Regions from separate parts of the Homo sapiens genome. Here region 2 is linked to region 1. The links are contacts of gene promoters, found by promoter capture Hi-C in blood cells and fetal thymus (Javierre and others, 2016). All regions are on one chromosome and are shown on one strand. Each heading gives the region's core, a stretch centred on a gene start or on the middle of the fragment in contact. The rest is flanking DNA. Distances are from core to core; before and after follow the strand shown.

Region 1 (6,292 bases), core at 1,617-4,116:
GTAGTACAACTGCAATGGAATTGTTACCAATATTAACCACTGCATAGCTATAGTTTTCTGGATTTCAAAGTGCTTTCTCACAGATGAACAATTTGATGTATCAGCCCAGATGGCCAGCTAGGTAGATTAGGTGAGAGAAAGGGAGTAACGTTGAGTACCTATTCTGTGATGTGATGCTTATTAATGTCTGATATCCTACTATAACTGTTTTCAATAAATAAAAATGTTCCCTCAAAAAATATAAATACCCTTCACTGGTGAACATTGAGTACTTATTAGAGCCCTTCTAATAAAAAACAAAATACTTAGATTTTGAAGGCATTAAGGCAGACACCTAGATCTACATTTCTCAAAGTTTTTCTGGGGGTGGTGGGGGGTTAGCGGGGTGTCACTAAGACTATTTCAGGAAAGTACATGAGGTTCTCCCTTTGCCAATTTATATATTACATGAGTCTAGATTTTCTTCATATACTTCAACCAAAACAACATATTGCAACAGATTGGATGCAGAAGCAGATATGAGAATCCAGCTGTCTTCTATTAAACCAGCCATTAGGGAGATTTATAAAAGTGCAAAAACAAAGCCACTCTTCTTAACTTTTTGTGTTTGTTTTGGAAAGCAGAGTTATGTAAACTTGTAATGCATGTTTTATTTTAAATGAATTTAAAATAAATTCTTTTTTTTCTATTTTAATTTCTAAATGCTAAATATCAATAGCTATGACCCACATAAATAAAAGTTCTTTGGTGTCCTCACCAAATTGTAAGTGTTATGGGGGGTCCAGATACCCAAAAGTTTGATAACCTGGCAAGTCTGAGAAGACACATCTGGGTGGATGAGCAAGTGTAGGGGTGGGAGGGGTGTGACAGGAACTGATGAGGGCACTGTGTGTCTCGTGTTCGGGACAGGATTCCTTGAATGGTACTAAAAGTGGACAGGGGAGGATGCAGTCCAGTCTACTCCTTCACTCTGCTTGTGGCCTGTTCTTAACACAGCTCTCATGGAAGCGCAATTTAGAGAAAGCAATCTTAAGAAACAAGAAAGTAGAGTTTAGAATCCCAAAATTAGGAAAGACAACTGCAATTTGTTTAGTGAAAAACACTGAAGTTGCTTCTTTCCAACAAGAATGGAAAACATTTTTGGAGTGCTGGTTGCTTTTTTTACCAGATGATATAAGATTTGTTAATTATTAGATTTTTGTAATACTTATTAATACATTTTTCTCTTATCTTTTGGAATAGCATTTCCTGGTTTTAAAAAAAAAAACTTAAAAGGGGGCAAATCGGCAGGAGACTGAGGAAAAGCCTAAATGTATTCCCCAGAAAGTATGTTTTAAATTTTAACATTTACTTACTGAGAGGTGAGGCCAGCTGAACTTCCTGGGTCCAGTGGGGACTTGAGGAACTTTCCTGTCTTACAAGAGGATTGTAAAATGCACCAATCAGCGCTCTGTAAAATGCACCAATCAGCACTCTGTAAAACGCACCAATCAGCAGGATTCCAAAAGTAGCCAATCGCAGGGAGGATTGAAAGAGGGGCACTCCGATAGGACAGAAATGGAACATGGGAGGGGACCACAAGGGAATAAAAGCTGGCCACCACCAGCCAGCACCTGGGGTTCTCTTCCATGCTGTGGAAGCTGTCCTTTTGCTCTTCGCAATAAACCTTGCTACCGCTCACTCTTTGAGTCCGTGCCATCTTTAAGAGCTGTTAACAGTCACCGGGAAGGTCTGCAGCTTCATTCTTGAAGTCAGGGAGACCACGAACCCCCTGGCAGGCACCAACTCCGACACATTACTAGGCGCTAAGCATTGTGCTAGAGAGTTTGCTGTGGTATAGGGGCAACAATCTTTACTTTGGAATGAGAAAAACTGTTTCAAACAACTTACTTGCCATGAGTAATTTAATTTCTCTCTTTTCTATAAAACATGGGTAATATTTATCTCACAAGGATGTTTGGGATTAAAAAGTGACAACCTATGTCAATAGGACAGCATGATGCAGTGTAGGTCTTCAATGAATAGCATGGAGAGTGCTTGCAAAGGGCAACGATAAAATCTAATATAAATAAGACGTTGTAGACAAACGCTTTAAAAACACAGGGGGTAAGGTCTGATGTGCCAGCGTCACTACAGACGTACTTAGAAAAGTGTTCTGGGGATCTAAGTAAAGGAGGACTCCCATTTGCTGGGAGTGAGAAAAGAGCTTTAGGGAAACTGCAGCGTGATGGGCGAATCCTCCTTTCAATATATCTACCCTGAAAGTCGGCTCCAGCCCTGCCGAACATCCTGGCCCAGCTGCACCCGACCCAGCGTGAGATGTCAAATGACCTCTTGGCGCTTCCACGCCAGACTGGAGGGGCTCTGCACAAGCCTTGCCCGACTCATTCCGGGCACCTTGAGCGTGGGAGTCCACACTGCCCCTTGACCGACCAGCTGCCAGGTTGGCCGCACTAACTTGAGCCCACCCCCACTCGAAGCTCCGCGCCGACAGCAAGTGGAGACTTGGGGGTACCGGATAGAGGAAGGAACTCCCAAGTTGTCAGCTTCAGACCATCCACGCCTCCCCCAACACGGAACCACCTTCAGCCTCCCAGCTGGTATCCCACCCCCCCTCCCCCCACCCGCTGGGCCAGAGCCCAGCCCTCGGACAGCGACCGTGCTCCTCCACACACCCCGCGCTCCAGCCCCTGGGCATCCAGCAGCCGGCGTTCGCACGCTCTGTCATCGATTGGCGCTGCCTTGCTCCTTGGGCTCCCGTCGCGTGGAAATCGGCCCGAAACTTGGAAAGTCCAGCGGAGCGCGGGGAGGGAACCGAGGCAGGCGGGCCAGGGGATTGCCGATCGCACGGATGGGCGCGCGCTCAGTCTGGCGAGTGGCGGCGCCGGCTAGCCCGAGCGGCGCGAGGCCGGAGTCCGGCGTCCGCCACCCTCTCGTCTCGCGCTGGCGCGCGAGCTCCTTGCCCTTGCCCCCAGGAGGGCCGCCCCGCGTGGGGCTCTCGCACCGCCCGGGGTGGGAGCAGGCGAGCCGGAGGGAGGAGGGAGGAGGGAGCGCGCGCGGGCGGCGGCGGCCCCTCCCTTCCCCCTCCCGCAGCCGCGGAGAGCGCAGGGAGCAGCCGGTGGCTCGGCGGCGGCGGCGGCGGCGGCGGCGGCGTCGGCGTCGTCTACCTCCAGCTTCTCCTCCCTCCTCCTCCGTCTCCTCCTCTCTCTCTCCATCTGCTGTGGTTATGGCCTGTCGCTGGAGCACAAAAGAGTCTCCGCGGTGGAGGTCTGCGTTGCTCTTGCTTTTCCTCGCTGGGGTGTACGGTAAGTGTCCGCGTCCCCGCGCCCCGCTGACCGAACAAAGCTGAGGCGACCCGGGCCCCGAGGCCTCCAGGACGGGGGTTCCCCTGGAGACTCCCGCGGAGACCCTGGCTACCGGCGGGACAAAGACCGGTGAGGGGGTGGATGTGGCGGAACGGGTGTCCCCACACGGAGATGCTTTTCTCCACTCGTCCACCTCCAGACCCTCGGGTGGTGGAGAGGGGCTGGGGGGCCCGGCCGGGAGGGCCCCGGCGGAGCGAGGGGGTGGCGGGCGGACTTCCCGACCTGGGTTCGAGGGCCCCCGCGGCCAGTTGCTCCAGGACCCGTAGCCTGGCACAATCCACACACAAAGATGCTTGACTGTGAGAAAGCAGAGGAGCTCGCCCCCGCCGCTGCCGGGACGGTCCTTCCCCCCGCCCCCTCAACCCGGGGTTAGGAAGTTCTCTCACCGGCGAGATTCCCACCGCGCCAGCCCTTGTCCTACTCGATTCCCTGAAAAGGCTTCCCGCTGACTTCTCCCCACTCCACCTCGGGGGCAAGGGCTCTGCCGAATCCGGGCGTGCAGGGTCCTGTTGGTTCCCCGGGAGCAGCACGCGGGAGAAGGCCAGAAAATAGTTTCCAGCCCCACCTCAGTCTCTCCTGTTAGGGTGTACACATCTGTCCTGACTCCTAGTTCAATTGTAATTTCATCCATCCTCGTCCGCCGCTGTGGTCACTGTTACTTTATTCCAGTCGATGGATCGGGTTAGAGATAACTCCTTTCGGGTTAAGAGAAGGCTGAAGACTGTGCGGACAGCTTTATATTGCGTTGGGGTCTGAGCAAGAGCTGAATGGAATTAATTGCAAAGAACATCTATCTCTTAAGATAATTAAGTTACACTTCTGACTTCACCGTTCTTAGTTCATCAGTTAAACACACTGAATAGGTATTTCAGAGAGCTCAGTTTTAACCTTTCCTTTTTGGAGTGTTGCTCTGATTTCTCCAGAAAAAGAATTAGAAGATATCATTACTTTGGTAAATTTTACTTATAAAAAGTCTAATTCATTTGCCACAAACATTGATTTGACTAGTATAATGGTGGTGGTGGTGAGGTTTAGTCAACAGCCAATTTGTCAGCAAGTGTTATCTCTTTTGAAGGCATTTATCTACGGAATTGAATGTGATGGTGGCTTTTGAAACCTGGCAAGTGACGCTAAATGAAGAATTAATGAACGTAATTGGGCATTTACTGACAGCCAAGAAATTCTTTTTGGTACAATTAAGGATGTGTTGCTCCCGTACCTGATTAGTAGTATTTTTGTTTGTTTTGGTGAGGAGAGTAGTTTGGTCCATTTTTTATGTAGGGGTAATTGCCAGAGGTGTGCTTGTGTGGGACCAAAAACCCAGTACACGACTTTTGATTGTTAGCTGCATCAAGTGGCTGTAATCCCTGCTTGCCTGATGACTTGTGGGTTTGGGTCTACACCAGAGATCAATAAGCTATTACGTTGTTTCTTCTGCCCTGAAGGTGGGTATAGTTCTGCTCTAGGTTTGGTGTAATGGCCCAGGAGAGAGAAGAAATTGAGAGGTATCTTTAATTTAGGGTGATTAGGATTGTCCAGCTTTGTCCTCTACTATAATAAGCATTGAATTTCTGTGATGTCCGATCAGAATAGATAAATAAATGGGCTCTTCTTTCATTAAAACCTGTGTCATCAGTGTTTGAACTAGAAGTCTTTTGCCTCGAGGGATAAGAGGCTGTGAACCCCTCAATTTGTTTTGGTGCATTCTTTAGTACTTGTACACAAAGTGACTTTCTGGTAGGTGCCTATCAAAGCTTTTATCTTTTTGGAATTTGTGTTCAGTGAGGAACACAAATTGTTAGTAAGCAAAGACTGAAACTCCTTTTTCCAACAGTGTGGGCCGCAGATTATAAAACCAGCAGGTGATTATGCCAAAGGTTGATGTCTCAAGCCACAGCAGGTTTCAAAGTGTAAAAAAAAAAAGGAGGTAGTGAACCAGGCAGAACATTAAACTATATCAGCAGAGATTAAAGGGAACCCTTCACCCTGGAACTGAGAAATCCTCTTTATGGCTGCATGTTTTTTGTCCTCTTCTGTCTCTAACCATATGTGGGTTTATAATAGTGAAAAAGGGCTGTAACAATAGTATGGGGTGGATGTGGTTCTATAACAATAGTGGGAATTGAGTAACTTAGAATATATAGTAGTTGTAATGGGTGGTGGATGCATCCTGAGAAATAGCTGTCGCCTTGAGCCTGTTAGAACAGATACTAGCTGTAATTTATGAAACTGTCCTCTATACAGTAAAAAGTGTGTGTGTGTTTTAAAAGGCTTCAAAAATAATTAGCTCTGTTAATGAAACTGAATATTCACAATCACTGTTAACAAAGAAAAGCAGGTTGATTGGCCAATATTTAGGGAACTCCAATATTAATTCTTCACAGAGTGACTCTTAAATGAAATGACTCTAAGGTGTGCTTCAGATTTTTGAAACATTTCACATACATAAAAAAATTTTTTGTTGTTTATTTTGGTGCTACTTTCCAGATGACGATTTTATGGGCTCTGATATGTGACTGTTGTACTTCCAAATTAACTTTTCTGAATGCCAGAGTCTTACCTGAAACTCTAAATTGTAATCTAGAATATAATGTTTTCTAGAAGTAGTTGTTCAAGGACCTGTAATTATCTTTCAGGGGCTACTGTATCTTAACCGCATTCAATGTGCCTAAGAGTTAGGAGAGAGTAAAGGTTGACCTCTGCCACCTTTGAAAGTTTGAAGGGATAAAAATATCAGTGGTGACAACCACAAGCTTTGCTACGCATTGTCCTAGGCTTACTGTAAGAGGAAAAAGTGCTTTGTCATTTTTCACATAGGGATGTCTCGCTTTTACAAATCTATGGGAGTTTCCAAAACCTCTGTCTCCTAGTCAATAGAAGCTGTTAGTCTTGCTCACCTCCTAAACCACAATTTGGTAATTCTGACA
Region 2 (6,364 bases), core at 656-3,155, 96 kb before region 1:
CCCGAGTAGCTGGTACTACAAGTGCATGTCACCACACCCAGCTAATTTTTTGTATTTTTAGTAGAGACAGGGTTTCAACATGTTAGCCAGGATGGTCTAATTAGACTTTTATAAGGCTATCTCCCTATATTGGGGGTGAAGACCAATACTCTATAAAACTACCTGGAACTTCTCTCTGATGTGCAAAGCAAAGAAGCTGAGCCAGAGAGGGCTAGGTGACTTGCAGCCTTAATCACAACTCCTGCCAGCTTGAATGGAGACAGGCACATGTGCTATTTAAACCTCCCTTATTTTACCTTGAGGAACAAAATCTATACAGTGTAAGGTTGGAAATGATGACAGCACACTCAAAATATTTGAAAGATTGGATCTCCAAGAGAAGGAAATAAAAGACCCCCCACCCCCACGACACACACACACACACACACACACACACACACACACACACACCAAGAGAAGGAATGAAGCTCAGGAACTGGAAGCTGGCTTGGGAACAGAGGCAATTCTAGGCCTCTGTTACCTTGTCACTCCCTCTCAGACCCAGGAGTTCAGAGAGTTCTGCTAATGTAACGAGTCAGCTCCTTCTACCTCTCCTACTGCTACAAATAACACCTATGCCATCTGGTGTCCACTTACTCATCACTTTGGTCTACTTGTGACTTCTGCTCACTCACAACTTCTGTTACTCACAAACCTTTAAGACCCTTCTCCCTTATGGCCTTGCTGCCTTCATCCTCTAGATTTCTTTTCAGAAATTCTGATTTGTCTCATTTAATACCCATTGTTCTGGTTGAACAAACCTCTTATTCCATGACCTCATAGCTTATAGCTTGTCTTTAGCCAGAAATCTACATCTGGTTTAATCAGCCTTGCCCAAGAAGACAGGGTCTCATGGCGCCAACAGGAACATTATCTGCTTAAAGAACTGCCTGCAGCCTTCCTTCAGGAAGGAAGGAAGGTAGCCCTCTAAAAGAAAACCATAGACTTTGCAGGCATTCTAAAGCTTGGTCTCTCCACTTCAGCAGGTATCTCAAACTAGAAACTAAAACTGAGTAGGAAAAAATTATCTAGAAACTTCAAACTCAGAAGAGGTTTGACTTTTTTAATAAAGAAAGGACTTTGGTACTTGACTGGGCATAAAAGAAACATCAGAAGGCCAGGAACATCGATAGTAATCAGACTAGGTCTCCAAGTCACCTAGGACACTAGGAGGGAGAAAAAAAAAACCATACCAGCTTTATATTAGAATAAAGAACAGTGGGGTTTGATAAAGCTGTTGATACTTGTACTGGGATGGTAGATACAAATGCTATAATTCACAGAGTGTATCGTCCTTGAACTATTTGTTTTTTCTATACATTTTGAATTTTTCTTATGCCTCGCTTTTTAATAGTCATTTGTGAAAATTACAGCTGGATTATCAATACTTAGGGATAAACAAATGTAAAGGAAGAGGGGTGCATGCCTCACGGAAGAGTCACAAGGAGTAGGTGAATCTCAGGAACTGTGTTTCTTGTCCTAGAGTGTGCTCTTTGGACTCTTACTCATTTTGGTTTGTTTTACACAGCCAAGAGGAGCCTAAGAAGACATGACAAGTAAATGTGATGTGGCATCCTCGATGGGATCCTGGGACAGATAAAAAGGCTTTAGGTAAAAACTAAAGAAATCTGAATAAACTGTGGACTTTAGCTAATAATAATGTAACAATGCTGGTTCATTAATTGCAACGAATGTACCATATTAATGTAAGTTATTAATAATAGGGAAAACTTGGTGCAGGAGTTGGAAGAGAGGCGTATGGGAACTCTTTGTACTACCTCCTGCTCAATTTTCTGTAATTCCAAAACTACTCTAAAAAATAAAGTCTATCAGTTATTTTTAAAAGACCTATCTCTAGCAATAAATAATTTAGACACTTCAGTTCACTCAAATGGAAAGTGATTTAGGACATGGCCAATAGTCCAAACTTTTTCACAAAGATAAATTATGCAACTAGAAGGTTACTAGAGAAAATGTTGGGATCATTATTTGTCAGGCCACCATTTGACCTTGTCAACAAGCAAATAGCCAAACTGTCATCCTTTACTCTTCAAAATGCAACTGAAACTTACTATTATTAGTTGTAAAATACTTTTCCCAAAGTTCATGTATTGGAAACTTAATCCCCAATGCAGTAGTGTTGAGAGGTGAAACTTTTAAGAGGTGATAAGATCATGAAGACTCTGGCCTTACAGATGGATCAATATCACTGGAGTGGATTTTTTTTAATTTAATTTAATTTTAAGTTCCGGGATACATGTGCAGGATGTGCAGGTTTTTTATACAGGTAAACGTGTGCCATTGCGGTTTGCTGCACCTATCAACCCATCACCTAGGTATTAAGCCCCACATGCATTAGTTATTAATAAAAGCAATATCAGCCCTCTCTTGCTCTCTCTAGTACTCTCTTGCCCTCTGCCTTCAGCCATAGGATGACACAGCAAGAAGGCCCTCACAAGATGCCAGGGCCATGCTCTTGGACTTTCAAATCTCCCGAACTGCGAGCAAAATAAGTTACTGTTCATTATAAATTACCTGGTGGGTGGTACTCTGTTATAGCAATACAAAACAGACTAAGACACTATTAGCAAAAAACATAACCAAGGGAAGCTGCATGCTGCAATTCTAATGCCATGACTCTAAACTTCAAATATTAACATGATGGGCTACTTGACTTTAAAAATATAAGAGTAAAAAGTGCCAAACAGGTGGCACTTGACAGAGAGCTGGTAACAGAACAGTGAGTTCCTCATAATGAGAAAGCTTCTAACAAGAGCCATTTCAGACATAATCAGCTCAGGAAAGAAACTCAGCAGAACAGAATGAGCATTCTAATTCAATTTATATTATTATATTGATGATGCATTTATATCGTGCATTTTTCGCCAAGGCTGTCAAGCACATTAGGCTAAGTTCTGCACAACAAATTCAAAATACTTAATAGGAGAGCTTCACTGTAAAATTCCTCACCTTTAAAGGCCTTTAAGGACATTCACAAAATCACATTTTTGGTAGATATCAGTTAGGAATTAACACCTGCCTTGGGAGAAACATTTGTCAAGGTTTTACTTCTCATTTTTTTTTCAATTGGTTACTGAAAGAGAATGCTGTCACCAGTTTCATGGCTTTCATGGCCAAGAACAGAAAAGTAAAAATCCCAGTTTGGTGTTTTCTATGGTTTGAATATTTGTGTCCCTCCAAAATGCATACTGAAACTTAATGTCTAATGCAACAGTATTGAGAGGTGGGATCTTTAGGAGGTGACAAGGCCATAAGGACTCTGCTCTCATGGATGGGATTAGACCCCTATAAAAGGGCTTATGGGAGCGAATTCATCCCTTTTGTCCTTCTGCCATGTGAGGACACAGCAACAAGGCACCATCTTGGAAGCATAGCGCAAGCCCTCACCAGACAACAAATCTGCCGGCCCCTTGATCATGGACTTCCCAGCCTCCAGAACTATGAGAAATAGATTTCTGTTGTTATGAATTAACCAATCTAAGGTATTTTCTTATAGCAGCAGGAACAAACTAAGATAGTGTTTGATATGATGGGAAGCCTCCCACAATCTGTGGATGATGGCGCATTGAGGATGGTAGCTCACTCAAAGCCCACTACTACTGCCCTACCCTGATGTTTGTTTTGGGATATACATTTCTGTCTTCATCAAGTCCCTCAATGAACAGGATCTCACTCCAATTTATTTGGGTAAATGGGATTTCTATTTAAATACACACACACACACACACACACACACACACACACACAATTTTATAAATGTTCTAAGAGCCAGAAATGAAATAGAATTGGGCCATGTAGGAATCAGAACTGGAGGGTTTGATAGCAAGGCTGTGCCTTCCATTCCTCAGTGGGCCCCTTGGTCTCTCAGTTCTGTTCCTCTCTGGACATCTGCCTTCATCTCTGTTTCTTCTCTGCAAGCTGGCTTTCTGGGTTTATTTAGGGCCTCTGTATTCTCCCATATTTCAGTTGCATGTGGTTTGACTTACAGCAGTGACAACTCTGGATTCTGCTCTATATGACCTTTCAGTTCAAGCACTCATCATCTGCCTCTGCTTGTCAGTATCTCAATTCCAGATGCCCCGGGGGATGTCTAGGATAGATGGGGTTCCATGACACATAATACGTCTACCACTTCTTCCAGGAACTGAGAGTGGGGTCTTTAAGAATGAAATGTGAGAAGGGAGGATGTAGTTGACTTGTCAATGTCCCCATCTTCCCTTTTAAAGTTAATTTAACTTATATTAATATACTTTTAACATATATTCCTTATAGAAAGACAGAAAATTAAGATAGGCAAACACACTTTAAATGTCTGTAATTTCTGCCATCCAAATACAACTACTGCAAATATCATGGCATAACCTTTCAGAATATCTAAAATACACATGTATTTATAGCCATATCTCCATTAATATTTTCAACAAGAAGCAGGATCACTTTATGCACACTACTTTAAAATACGCTTTTTCACTTAAAAGTATGTGGGAATATATTGGGTATATTCTCATATCCATGAATATTAATCAGTGTCATTTTTAATTACTGCATAATATTTATTTTACAGATGTGCTATAATTTAACCAGGTACCTCTCATTAATGTTTGTTTCCATTTCTTTCTTTTTATAAAAGCAACCAAACACTCAGCTCAACATTCTTACACACATCTAAGTACAAACTCCTGAAACTTTCCTTAGTATGAATTCTCCCAAGTGGATTTGCTTGTTTAGAAGGCATGAGACATACGATCAGAGTATTTTGCATAAATGCAGCTCTGATATACATTTCCATGTGTACTATATCTATATGATGTGCCAATTTCTCCATATCCTGGGTATTATCATTCTCTTTAAACTACCTCAGTTTCTCCTTAACTGCCTTATTTTCCCCTAACTTGCCATCTGTGTGGCAACTCAGGCTGAAGTCATATGGGTTATAGTTCCCTTTAGACCAAGGATACTGCATCTGTGACTTTCCTTGGCCAAATGTTTCCTCTGAGAGAGCATTATTTTCAGTCTGACCTTTTTCTTCCTCGCTGTCTTTGTAACTTGCTAAAATATTTGTATTGAGCATCTGCCTTTCCTTTACCAGCTGGGATGAATGCAGGAGTGTAGCTTTCTTTCTCTATTTAAAGCTGTCAAATATACCATATCCAGGTTGAGCCCAGAGAGTCTACTGAGTATTCATCCTCGGGCAAAGAGTACAGACATATTTCCTGGTAAAATTGACAGTCTGGTAAATTATCGGAGGGCTTTATATGGAATCAGGCTTTGCCATACTGGTACTTACTTTGTGTTTAGGAGAAACACTTATTCATTCACCTGTCTATTCATTATTCATTTATCCACCCATATTTGCTAAGGACATGTAAGCATGTAAGCTATAAGTCTCAACTCTCTAAAGGTGATTTTTTGAGAGTCATCCTTATGCAGGTCTCTCTCTATATATATCTATATCTAGATATAGATATAGTTATAGATAGATATATAGATAGATATAGATATAGTTATAGATAGATATATAGATAGATATAGATACATAGATATATAGATATAGACATATAGATAGATATAGATATAGATATAGATATAGATATAGATATAGATATAGATATAGATATATAGAGAGAGACAGAGAGAAGGAGAGAGGGAGTCTCACTCCATTGCCCAGGCTGGAGTGCAGTGGCGCAATCTCAGCTCACTGCAACCTCCGCCTCCCAGGTTCAAGCAATTCTCCTGCCTCGGCCTCCCAAGTAGCTGGGATTATAAGCGTAAGCCACCACGCCCAGCTAATTTTTTTTATTTTTGTATTTTTTTAGCAGAGACAGGGTTTTGCCATGTTGACCAGGCTGGTCTCGAACTCCTGACCTCAGGTGATCCACTCACCTCGGCCTCCCAAAGTGCTGGGATTACAGGCATGAGCCACCACACCCAGCCAGGTCTTTTAATATTAAGTACTTTCTCAACAAGCACAAGTAAGGAACAGGTAGGTATAGTTTAAAATGATCAGTAACAAAATATTTTTATAAAAGGAAAATCTTTGTTTATTATAGGAATTTTCTGAAACACAGAAAAGCAAAACATAAAATTTATCAGTAATTATATAACCCAGAGGTAATCAACAAAAACCACACACATTTACTGCCTTTTTTTTTTTTTTTGACAGAGTTTTGCTCTGTCACCCAGGCTGGAGCGCCGTGGCGTGATCATGGTTTACTGCAACCTTCATCTCACAGGTTCAATCGATTCTCCTACCTCAGTCTTCTGAGTAGCTGGGACTACAGGCGCATGCTGCCACACCCAGCTA

Evidence for each region. The method cuts DNA at HindIII sites, captures the fragments that hold promoters and counts their contacts. A CHiCAGO score of 5 or more calls a contact.
Region 2: a contact is called between a fragment that was not itself captured here and the fragment with the promoter of LRP12 in region 1, in 1 of 17 cell types (M2 macrophages). The highest score is 5.2, in M2 macrophages.

What each region holds. Positions count from the first base shown.
Region 1 is chr8:104,585,832-104,592,123 of GRCh38, reverse strand. It overlaps LRP12 (LDL receptor related protein 12), which reads left to right and starts at 2,866. Exons shown (of 7, transcript NM_013437.5): 1 at 2,866-3,305. The coding sequence starts at 3,227. RefSeq lists silencers at 2,828-3,167, 3,598-3,707. The HindIII fragment of the contact is 14,799 bases long and covers 1-5,121 here.
Region 2 is chr8:104,680,893-104,687,256 of GRCh38, reverse strand. No RefSeq gene overlaps it. Among named protein-coding and RNA genes, the nearest start is that of LRP12, 95 kb to the right of the region's middle. The HindIII fragment of the contact is 1,799 bases long and covers 1,006-2,804 here.